Linked DNA regions of Homo sapiens: region 1 is linked to region 2. The links are contacts of gene promoters, found by promoter capture Hi-C in human tissues and cell types (Jung and others, 2019). All regions are on one chromosome and are shown on one strand. The core of a region is centred on a gene start or on the middle of the fragment in contact, and the rest is flanking DNA. Distances in the headings are between cores, read along the strand shown.

Region 1 (6,323 bases), core at 3,635-6,134, 1.8 Mb before region 2:
GCAAGGCTTGGTGATCTATTAGAAATACGTTGTTGAGGCCAGGCACTGTGGCTCACGCCTCTAATCCCAGCACTTTGGGAGGCCAAGGCGGGCGGATCACAAGGTCAAGAGATCAAGACCATCCTGGCTAACACGGTGAAACCCCCTCTCTACTTAAAGAATACAAAAAATTAGCCAGGTGTGGTGGCGGGCGCCTGTAGTCCCAGCTACTAGGGAGGCTGAAGTAGGAGAATGGCGTGAACCCGGGAGGCGGAGCTTGTAACAAGCCAAGATCGCACCACTGCACTCCAGCCTGGGCGACAGAGCAAGACTCCGTCTCAAAAAAAAAAAAAGAAATATGTTGTTGAGGAAGGAAGAGGAGGAGGCTGGACAGAAAAGGCGGTGAAGCAGGAGTGGAAGAACTTGGGGTTGGAGGGCTAGAGGAAGCAGAGGAGCACATGTGGTCTGTACTCTGAAGGAGAGGGCACCACATTCTGAGAACCTCTCCATGACAGGACACCTGGCCTGGTGGGAGGCAGGTGGGGTTCCTAAGAAAATGTGTGAGCAGAAGATCCATTAAAAATTAATTAGAGAAGAACAGAGGGAATGGTGTTCCAGGCAGAGGGAACAGCATTTGCACAGCCTCGTGGGGGCGAGTCATGGGGAGTGCGCCAGACACAGAAATAGGAGCACAGTGGGAACTGGCGCTGTATGGGGAGGCAGCAGCGACCTGCAGGGCCTCACAGGCCTAAAGAGCTCTGTCTTCCTCCTAGAAGGATGGGAAGTCAGCTAGAATTTGCAGAGGGTGGGGAGGAGGGAATAGATAGGGCCAGGTCTGTGTTCTCAAAGCTCACCCTGGCTACAGTTTGGAGACAGACCAGACCATATGCAGGGAGCAGTTAGGTGGTTATGGAGGCCTTCCAGGTGAGCTGACGGTTGTGTGGAAGCGGGGGATGAAGGTGGAGGGAAGTGGCTGGGTTCAAGAGGTACTTAGGAGGCAGAAGTGGCAGGACTCAGTGCCAGATCCGTTGTGGGGATGCTTGGGGTTCTTTAAGGTGGGATAGTCAGTGACCTGGCTAACGAGCCCTCAAAGAGGGCTGGAGACAGGGGGGAAGCTCATGAGGCTCAGCATCCAGGTCTGGAGCTGAGTCCTGGCCGGGCTCTTCCGTGAGTCATCTGCACACAAGTTCTATTAGTGAGAGTGCTGGACAAGATTTCCTGGGGGCAAAGACCCACCTCCAAGAGCTCCGTGATGTGCCAGGGAGAGGGGCATGAGTCTGAGAAGAGAGAAGGAACAGCCAGGGGCTGGCGTGTTGATGGTAGAAACCATTACAGAGTTCGCACCTGGTGGGTAACTGTGGAATGTCACCTGGAGACAGGACAAAAATGTCCTGTTTATTAACCGAGGGGGGAGAGCTGGAAAGACAAGAAGTTGTGGAAGGAAGAAGGGACATTAAAGATGGGGCCTGACGGGAAACAGTGGTTCCCAGTGATGCCCAGACCCAGGGAGGGGCTTTGGAGCAGGTTCACTGGAGAAATGGGGGTAAATGAAGGTCCCCAAAACAAAGGACAAAGAATGTCAGAGCTGGCCGGGCGCCGTGGCTCACGCCTGTAATCCCAGCACTTTGGGAGGCCGAGGCGGGCGGATCACCTGAGGTCACGGGTTCGAGACCAGCCTGGCCAACATGGTGAAACCCCGTCTCTACTAAAAATACAAAAATTAGCCGGGCGTAGTGGTGGGTGCCTGTAATCCCAGCTACTCGGGAGGCTAAGGCAGGAGAATCGCTTGAACCCAGGAGGTAGAGGTTGCAGTGAGCAGGTTGCAGTGAGCAGAGATTGTGCCATTGCCCTCGAGCCTGGGGGACCAAGAGTGAGACTTTGTCTAAAAAAAAAAAAAAAAGAAAAGAAAAAAAAGAACGTCAGAGTTAGGGCCCTGGATGGCTCCTCTATATCTCAAACCCCCTGGGCAATGGCAGAAACTGCGGTAGGAAAAGTTCCTACAAGTGAGGAGAGCGGGGACAGTGGCTGGTGGTGACAGGAAGGAAACAGGCAAAGGCGGCAGTCGCCAGGGAAGACCTTGCGCCCCTTCAGCGACCCGCTCACCGCTCTTCCTGCTTCCGGATTCCTCCCCGCCAGTCCAGGCTGCAGCTGTAGGAAAGCCTGGGCCGGGGGCGCGCCCCCAGGCTGCGCAACAGCTACCACAGGACCAGGCACACACCCGGTCACCACCGCTGGGGCCCGCGCCACGTGGCTGCTAGTTTCCTTCCACTTCCCCCGCTTTGTAATGCCAGGCAAGACGCTTTATGTTGATTTCACACGCTCTTAAGGGGGTCCCAGGCCGCAGTCTGAAAACCCCTGCTCCTGAGCAAGTTGCGTTTCCCTAAAGACCAGGAAGCGGAGGTAGTTCCATCGTTTCTTTACACGGCAAGGAGCTTTCAGATTATTCCGAGGGCCTGGCTATGAGTCTAGGCAGGAGGCGGCCCAATCATGGGAGGCGCCAGAGACAAAGAGGAAGAGGACATGGACTAGGCAGGGAAGCCAGGTCGAAGGAACCCCAATGCCTCCAAGGTTCCCACAGCTGGCCTTGGCCAAAATATCCGAAAATTCCCATGTAGAAACTGGCTTTTCCAGCCTGGGCAACATGGTGAAACCCCGACTCTACAAATAAATACAAAAACTAGACAGGTGTGGTGTCCGCGCCTGTGGTCCTCTGCCCACGCTCGTCCCAGCTACTGGGAAAGCTGAGGCGGGAGGATCACCTGAGCCCGGGAGGGTCGAGGCTGCAGTGAGCCGAGATTCCGCCGCGGCACCCCAGCCTGGGCGACAAAGCGAGAGCCTGTCCAAAAAAAAAAAAAAGAAAAAAAAAAAAAAAAAAACCTTTTAGGGCAAGTTAATCACCAAAGTGTTAGATACTTAATTTGGAGACCGCAAATCGGTCGGCAAAACGATGGGCTTTTCAAAATCATGCCGGGTGTAGCTGGGTAAGCATGAATTTGTTCACCAAGTCCCCGATTCCCAAGCTAAGGGACCCTTAAGTATGAAGCACATGGCTTTCGGGGAACCCAAAAGTAGGGAGCGCTCCCGAGCCAGCGGTGGGTCTGGAGAATCCCCGAGCGCGCAGGCCGCGGGACAGCCTCCCCAGTGCGCAGCAGCCTGAGGCTAACAGCCCCCAGAGGGCAGAGCCCCGCGATCCCGGCGCCGCTTGCGGCTGGATTCTTTGGCAGCGGGCGCGGCGCCAGTCAGGACGACGGCTCCGGAAGTCTCCCGGGCGCGTGAGACCCGGGCCGCTCTCCGTCCACGCACGACCCTCCCTCCAGGCGCGCCTCCCACCCCGGCCCCGCGTTCCGCTCAGCCCGGGTGACCAACTACACCTCACTTCAAAGGCCCCCACGCCCGGGCGTGCCCTCCGCCCGCCCGCGGCAGGTGGGGGTGCAGGGCGGAGGGCGCGGGCGGCCCCAGAAGGCGCCCGGACCTTCCCGAGAATTCCGGGCCGCGCAGGCGCATTGAGGCCGGCGCGGGGGCGTGCGAGAGGCGCGCGGCGGCGATTGAGGGAAGGTTGCCCGGGCCGGGCCACGAGCAGGGCCTGCGCGCGCCCGCAGGAAGGCGCGGGGGCGGGGTGCCGCGGCAACGGCGCATGCGTAGGCGCGCGGCCGCGGCGGCGGCTGGGGAGGGTTCTTCCGGAAGGTTCGGGAGGCTTCTGGAAAAAGCGCCGCGCGCTGGGCGGGCCCGTCGCTATATAAGGCAGGCGCGGGGGTGGCGCGTCAGTTGCTTCAGCGTCCCGGTGTGGCTGTGCCGTTGGTCCTGTGCGGTCACTTAGCCAAGGTGACGGGTGGTTGTGGGGGCCTGTGGAGGTGGACTGGGGACCGGGACTGGGGGCGGCTGGCGCGGGGCGGAGGCTGTGGGGGCCGGACCAGATCCCTGAAGCAGCCAGGGCCGCGCTCCCGGGCGGCCGCGCTTTCTATTCCGGAGGCCTCGGGACCGCTGCGGTTTCCGCACCCCGCTTCAGGAATGGGCCGGGCGGCCGCGGGCTCCCCGAGGCTCTGCAGCAGCGCCAGAGCTGGCGCCGCACGCGAACAGAGCGGCCCCGCCGCGGGGGTCCCCCGCCCGGCCCCGCTGGGGGCGCAGGCGGAGGAGGCCGCCGTGGCGGAGCCGCAGCCCGCGCGGGAGGGCACCCGGGGTGTTCGTTGGGGACCGCGGCGGGGGACTGGGCCCGGGCCTGCGGCGGCCTCCCGGAAGCGCGCACACGCTCGTGGTAGTTGCCGCGCTCCGAAATGAGGTCATCCTTTGTCAGCCGCCCTTCTATTTTCGGTTTACTTAAACTTCGCAAATCTCCAATTCGGCTTTAAAAATATTTGGAGAACGCGATGGAATTTCGTGTTGCCTCTGTAGACGTCCTGCAAGGTTTTAAACCGGCGCGGTGTCGTTCCAGATGCCTGAGGAAACCCAGACCCAAGACCAACCGATGGAGGAGGAGGAGGTTGAGACGTTCGCCTTTCAGGCAGAAATTGCCCAGTTGATGTCATTGATCATCAATACTTTCTACTCGAACAAAGAGATCTTTCTGAGAGAGCTCATTTCAAATTCATCAGATGTAAGTCACTTATTAACCCAGAATCGGATTTTGGTTTCAGTGTGAACTTCTTGGGGGTGCTGTATGCTTAAATTAATATTTTTTGTTAACAGGCATTGGACAAAATCCGGTATGAAAGCTTGACAGATCCCAGTAAATTAGACTCTGGGAAAGAGCTGCATATTAACCTTATACCGAACAAACAAGATCGAACTCTCACTATTGTGGATACTGGAATTGGAATGACCAAGGCTGACTTGATCAATAACCTTGGTACTATCGCCAAGTCTGGGACCAAAGCGTTCATGGAAGCTTTGCAGGCTGGTGCAGATATCTCTATGATTGGCCAGTTCGGTGTTGGTTTTTATTCTGCTTATTTGGTTGCTGAGAAAGTAACTGTGATCACCAAACATAACGATGATGAGCAGTACGCTTGGGAGTCCTCAGCAGGGGGATCATTCACAGTGAGGACAGACACAGGTAGGCACCTGAACATTCACTGGTTAAGTGAGCGGTGGAAGGGTGGGGTGCTGCAACCCTTGGACCCCTGGGGATGCGGTGAAGCTTACAGAATTTGTGTTTGCCCAACGATCAGGAACAAGCTAGAGCACTTAATTAGTGTAATGGCATGACTTGGTGGGCGGTTCTTTTGGGCGAGGCACCTTGCCCAAAAGGTTCTGCTGTGGTGGCCTTTGCATCTGTAGTAACGGCAAACCTTGCTTTATAGACACGTTATAAGGGTGTTAGGCATGGCGTTGAGCACTAAATTGAATGTATTAAGTCAATTTTTCTTTCTTCTCTTGCAGGTGAACCTATGGGTCGTGGAACAAAAGTTATCCTACACCTGAAAGAAGACCAAACTGAGTACTTGGAGGAACGAAGAATAAAGGAGATTGTGAAGAAACATTCTCAGTTTATTGGATATCCCATTACTCTTTTTGTAAGTTTTTATGTAATTGCAGAGTGAATTTCTGTCTGTAGGTGATTGGGGTGACTGTACTACATCCTTAGTCCCTAGATCTGTTCAACTAGTCTGAAGCCTGGGGAACCTAAGCTCTACTACCTAACTCTGTAAAAGTTCCTCGGGCTATTAAGTGGATGTATCAAATATTGATGAAAAGCTGGGTGCTTCTCAAGTTGGCTAATTTAGACTTGGGCCTTAGGTTGAAAATAGTGGTGCAGCGCTGTCGCTTAGTTCTGGAGTGCAGCAGTGATGTGATTTCGTGTTTTCTTTTGAAGGTGGAGAAGGAACGTGATAAAGAAGTAAGCGATGATGAGGCTGAAGAAAAGGAAGACAAAGAAGAAGAAAAAGAAAAAGAAGAGAAAGAGTCGGAAGACAAACCTGAAATTGAAGATGTTGGTTCTGATGAGGAAGAAGAAAAGAAGGATGGTGACAAGAAGAAGAAGAAGAAGATTAAGGAAAAGTACATCGATCAAGAAGAGCTCAACAAAACAAAGCCCATCTGGACCAGAAATCCCGACGATATTACTAATGAGGAGTACGGAGAATTCTATAAGAGCTTGACCAATGACTGGGAAGATCACTTGGCAGTGAAGGTGAGTGACTGATGGGTGCTTCAAGCTTGTCCTTAGATTATCATCTTTCTCCACCACCCCAAATATCTTCTATAATGCATTGTTCATTGGTACTTAGTGTATCTGTTTTATTACAGCATTTTTCAGTTGAAGGACAGTTGGAATTCAGAGCCCTTCTATTTGTCCCACGACGTGCTCCTTTTGATCTGTTTGAAAACAGAAAGAAAAAGAACAACAT
Region 2 (5,597 bases), core at 2,679-5,178:
TCACAAGGAAAAGTAAGGGGGATAGTTTACCACAAAACACATGTCCGAGAAACAGGCCATCCTATGTTACTGCCATCAAATATTTATAACTACCCTTATGCACAGCGTACTCTACCACACTAGCTAGACAACCAGCGCTTTAAAGAAATGGACATTATAGCCAGGGGTGGTGGTGGATGCCTGCAATCCCAGCTACTTGGGAGGCTGAGACATGAGAATCCCTTGAATCCGGGAGGTGAAGGTTGCAGTGAGCCAAGATCGTGACACTGCACTCCAGCCTGGGCAACAGAGCAAGACTCTGTCTCAAATTAAAAAAAGAAAAGAGAAGAAAAGAAACGGACGTGAAAACAACCCCAAACTGTGCCACCTTAAAAGCAGCCACTTGGCTGGGCGCGGTGGCTCACACCTGTAATCCCAGCACTTTGGGAGGCCGAGGCAGGCGGATCACGAGGTTAGGAGATCAAGACCATCCTGGCTAACATGGTGAAACCCTGTCTCTACTAAAAACACAAAAAATTAGCCGGGCGTGGTGGTGGGCGCCTGTAGTCCCAGCTACTCGGGAGGGTGAGGCAGGAGAATGGCGTAAACTCGGGAGGCGGAGCTTGCCGTGAGCCGAGATCATGCCACTGCACACCAGCCTGGGCGACAGAGCGAGACTCCATCTCAAAAAAAAAAAAAAAAAAAAAAAAAAAACAAAAAACAAAACAAAACAGCCACTTGCACACTTGTAAATGCTCACTTAATTGTAAATTGACTTCCATCAGTCAAGCCCCTCAGACTTTCTCCCCTAACTGGCTGACTCCATACATACCACTTCAGCAAGCAAAGCCGTACACTACCAGCTTCTCTGGATGTGGAAAAGTGGACCAGCAATTTGTTAAGATAAAATGCAGATCATGTAAAAATATGTCGGTTTTCTAAATTCCTCTAATTCCACACACTATGAGAAAAAGTAAATTTACTTTTGTGGTTAATGTATCTTTACCTAAATATCTTATTTCAAATCGTATTCTGAATTCTGCAAATTCATCAATAACTAAAACCCCCATCCCTTACTCATTGGTATTAACAAAAAAAAATGCCCCCCCCCCCCTTTTGAGACAGAGTCTCGCTCTGTCACCCAGGCTGGAGTGTAGTGGTGCAATCTCGGCTCACTGTTAACCTCTGCCTCCTGGGTTCAAGCGATTCTCCTGCCTCAGCCTCCCGAGTAGCTGGGATTACGGGCTCCCGCCATCACGCCTGGCTAATTTTTATATTTTTAGTAGAGATGGGGTTTCACTATGATGGCCAGCTGGTCTCGAACTCCAGACTTCAAGTGATCCACCGGCCTCAGCCTCCCAAACTGCTGGGATTACAGGCGTGAGCCACCGCGCCCGGCCAAAACCATGACTTTTAGTTCCAACATGATCAGTATGTAATCTCTTGAGCTACCAAAATACATGGAAATTATCTTTTGATAACCATTAAGTACTAAAGTATTCATGTTTCATTTAAACATAGTTTCTGCTAAACTCAAACTGCTATGAATTCTACAAGGCACCCTGGATGCAGGACAGCGCCTGTTAGCACCTTCCTATTAGATTTTGACAGCTCCTAGATCCCTTTGCTCAGGCCTCTTTCAATCACAGATCCACCCAGCTGTAGTTGTCTCATCTTGAGGCTTTCACCAGATACAAACTAGCTTTTTCAGTCCAGCCTTTTCATTTCTGTTTCATTCATTCCTCCGAATTTTAACGATCTTTTAATACTCAAAGGTCACCATATTTTGAGTCTCCATTCAGTTCTGAGAATTTATGAAGCTTTAAAGTACTTATAGGGAAGAGGTTCCACCGCTTATATGGAGTACTAAACGTAATCATCACAGGCATTAGATTAACTACGATGGCAGGATTATTCTCAGTCTATTTAGTATCTCAGCAATTTAGCTAGGTAGCATATGAATATACTAATAGGATACTGACCTAAAAAACCAGCATTGAATTAATAATTGCCTTTGAAGTAAAAACAGATTTTACACAGGCAGATAAGATCCTTTTGCTCTAGATGGTTTTCAGGCCTTCGTTAAAAGTAGTATTAAAACAGTAAAACAAAACTCAAAAAAACCCGCTTTCTATTATCGTTCTTTTCATGGGGAAAATAGATACCTTTCTACAAAGTAAAAACCATAAAGGCTTAAAATTAAACTACCCGATTTTATTTACTGGCAAATGTCCACAGTTGAGTAAACTAACCCAACCTATTCAGAAGAGCTAAATACTTGAGGGAAAAAAAAAAAGCTTTCCCAAAACGTAAGTGACTAAGAATTATTCGCTAACATTCACAGGCCCTTTCCACTAGGTACCGCAGGAAGGCGAAAAGGCCAGGAATTCGCTGGCAACGGCGGTGACAGGCTCCGACTGACGCTCGGAGCCCGCACACGCGAGCCCTACGTGCAGCCCCAAGTCCCGCCCCGCAGCAAACGACGACTTGGGCGAGCGTGACCGCCGGGGCAGGGTCCAGCCCGGCGCTGGGTGGGCGGGGAGCAAGGAGGCCGGAGGGCGCCCACGAGTGCCAAGCCCCCTCCTTCTGGAAGGTGCCACCGGGGAGCAGTTGGGAGTCCGGGGAAGTTGGGGGCGGGCGGGGCAAGCGCCCGCGGCGCCCTCCAGCGGCCGATGGGGTAACGGCAGCGCCGGGCGGGGGCGGGGGCGCGCGTCCCGGAGGCAGCAATCCCTGGCCCGCGAGGCCGCGGCGCAGCCCCGCCAACGACCTCCCGCGTCCCGCCCGGGCCGGGGGCGCGCAGCTGCCGCCACAACGGGCCGGCGGGCGCGCCCGTTGATGCGGGCGCGGGGAGCGAGGGCGTCGGGGAGCGAGCGCGCCGGCCCCTCCCCCGGCCGTCTCCGCCCCGCGCGGCGCTTCCCCCTCTCGGAGAAACTACGCCATTGCGGCCTAGCCGGGCGGCGCCGGCCCCTCCCCCCCGCGGCCTGCCGCCATCTTCGCGGCCCGCCGCCCGCCGCCGCCGCCGCGCCCCCGCCGCCGCACGGCCCGCCATCTTTTGGGGCCGCCATACTTGCCCTGGCGAAGAAGATGGCGGCGCCCATCACACACATAAAACATGGCTTCCCTTCAAAACAAAAACATCCCGGGGCCGGGGCGCGCGGCCGGCGCTCACCTGAGGACCACATGGTGACCGAGAACTCGCCCTCCAGGGTCTTGATCTGCACCTGCTTCTGCTCCCACTTCTTGTTGCCCGGGTCGGCGCCGCCGCCGCCCGCCGCGCCGGCCCCGCCGCTGAGGTAACTCTTCTTGCCGCTCTTCTTGCCGCCGCCCTTCTTGACGCGGCCGCCTCCCGACGACGACGAGCCGCCGCCGCCGCTCTTGCCGGCCGCCGCCACGGTGACCAGCGTTTGTTCAATGTAGTCGTCGTCGCCGCCGGCCGGCGCGGGCACCGGGATGAGAATCTGATCCTCGAAGCCGTCCTCGGCGCGCAGCCCGTCCGAGTCGTCGCCGCCCACCACCTCCTCGCGCGTCTGCACCAGGATCACCTCCTGGTGGTGGTGCACCTGGGTCGGGTCGTCGGTGACCAGCGGCTGCAGAGCGATCATGGGCGGGTGGTGGTGGTGGTGATGGTGGTGGTGGTGGTGGCCGGCGTGCCCGTGGCCGCCCCCGCCGCCGTGGTCGCCACCGCCGCCGTCCTCGTCGTCGTCGTCCTCCTCCTCCTCCTCGCCCACCACTGTGGTCTCGATGGTCTCCACCGGGATGGTCTCCACCTCGATCTCGTGCAGCTCCACGATCTCGGCCGGCATCTCCGAGCCGTCCGTGGCGATGTAGAGGGTGTCGCCCGAGGCCATGGCTGAGGGCTCCGCCGCCACGGCCGCGGCGGCCTCGGCTCCTCGGCTGCGGGCGGGCGGGCGAGGAGGCGGCCGGCCGTGGGGAAGGAAGGCAGAGGGAGGAAGGCGGCGAGCGGGCGGGGGGAGAGGGGGCGGGCGGCGGGGGAAGGGGCGGGCGCCGCGGCGGCGGCGGGGCTTCCCCGCCTCCCTCGCCTCGGTGCGCCCGCGCCCGCGCTCGCTCGGCCGCTGCTCGTCTCGGCTCCCCGCCTCGCCTCGCCTCGCCGCAACCGCCCGCCCTGGCCGCGCCTCCTCCCGCCCTCCGGGCCGGCGCTCCGCTTCCCCCTTCCTCCTGCGCCTCCGCCTCCTTCCACACAAATACCAACTCCTCAACCCGAGCCCAGATCTCGCCGCCGCCGCCACACTCTGCTCGGGCCCGGCCTCGCGAGACTTCCGCGCTGGCCTCAGCCCGCCCCGCCTCGCTGCCACTCGCCCGTTCGCCCTCTCGATTCTCCTCTCGGCCAATCGATCTGTCCGCTGGCCTCCGCGGCCCCGCCCACTCGCCGGGCTCCTCCCGGATTGGGGCCGATGGGACCGGGGGCGGGGCGGCTCGCACGCGCCCTGGCTGGCCCGCGGCGCGTGACGTCAGCGCGCCGCCGCCGCCGCCACCGCCTCCCGCTTCCCGGTGTCGCGCGGCTGCCGCCCTTCGCGGTGCAACAGCCACAAAACCCGCCGCCTCGGGCCGGGGCCGCACTCGGGAACGGGGCGTCGCCGCTACAGCCGCTGCCTTGGGAGCCGGTGAGCGGTCCGCGCGGCCCCGGGCACCACGGGGGCGGGAGCCTGAGGAGAAGGGAGGGAGGGGCCGGCCGGGAGCGGGGTTGAGGCGGGTGGGCGGCCCGGGGGCCGCGCGGGGAGCGGCTGGCGCGTGCGGGGCGGCCCTGTCGCCCCAATAAAGTCTGCTTTGACGAGAATCGCCTGTGCTTCCTTTTTCGCGTCGGGAGGTGTTTGTTCTTGTCGCCTGGCTTCGGGCGAGCGATGGCCGCGGGGTGAGTGTGGAGGACCGAACGGACAAAATCGGGCGACGCGGGCAGCGTCCGGTATCTCGCCGCGAGCGCCCGGCGGGGTGCGGGGCCGAGCGCGGGGTCGGCGCGAGCTCGGCGGAAGCGCCCGCGGAGCCCCAGGGCCACCGTTGGGAGGATGTCCGTTATTCTTTAGTGACCCGCGGAAACCTGAGACGCAGCCGTTGGGTGCCTGTTTCCCCGTAGATCTTAGAACTACAGGGTCCTGGCGGCTTTCTAAAATTTTCTCCTGAGCTTCCCCTTCTTTGCTCTCCAGTCAGCCATTGTTTCCCTTGCCCACCCTTTCCCCCTATTTGTCACTTTCATAGGTGCTCCTTTTTACGCCCACCAGGTTTTGCATTTGTCTCATTTAAAATTCCAAATTTTTTCAGCCGTGTCCTCCATTGTACCTGCAACAGAGCCTAGATTTTTTTTTGTGGCACGGATTAGCGGCAAGTTAAACCTTCCTGAATGAGTTACATTGCAGCGAAGTGTTTCTGCTCTTATCTGTCCTTTTGGTCGACCTGACAATTTGCCTTAAAGCAAAACAAAGATTTCCTGATTTTTAAGGAAACTATGACAAATTGAAGAGTTGGAAAGGTGTGTCTTTGTTGTACTCGTTTGGCCGATTTAACGCCTCTGTGAATTTGTTCAACTTAAATATTATCAACATTTACTGTTTTGTAATAGTGTTCATGCAGTTGAGGCCCATGATTTTCTGAACTGTACGCAATAC

What was found. Contacts are between HindIII fragments. The study calls those that stand out against the background at their distance.
Region 1: a fragment that was not itself captured here is called in contact with the fragment with the promoter of YY1 in region 2 in 1 of the 25 tissues and cell types used here (hippocampus).

What each region holds. Positions count from the first base shown.
Region 1 is chr14:102,084,464-102,090,786 of GRCh38, reverse strand. It overlaps HSP90AA1 (heat shock protein 90 alpha family class A member 1), which reads left to right and starts at 3,743. Exons shown (of 11, transcript NM_005348.4): 1 at 3,743-3,801; 2 at 4,409-4,570; 3 at 4,663-5,029; 4 at 5,356-5,489; 5 at 5,789-6,106; 6 at 6,223-6,323. The coding sequence starts at 4,409. RefSeq lists silencers at 3,186-3,235, 3,296-3,825, 3,866-4,155 and an enhancer at 5,868-6,323. The HindIII fragment of the contact is 5,167 bases long and covers 2,301-6,323 here.
Region 2 is chr14:100,237,475-100,243,071 of GRCh38, reverse strand. YY1 (YY1 transcription factor) reads right to left here and starts at 3,928. Exons shown (of 5, transcript NM_003403.5): 1 at 3,149-3,928. The coding sequence starts at 3,827. YY1-DT (YY1 divergent transcript) reads left to right here and starts at 4,451. Exons shown (of 2, transcript NR_189150.1): 1 at 4,451-4,601. RefSeq lists silencers at 2,327-3,006, 3,277-3,326, 3,817-3,886, 4,037-4,116, 4,177-4,776 and enhancers at 3,017-3,176, 4,014-4,866. The HindIII fragment of the contact is 4,615 bases long and covers 2,039-5,597 here.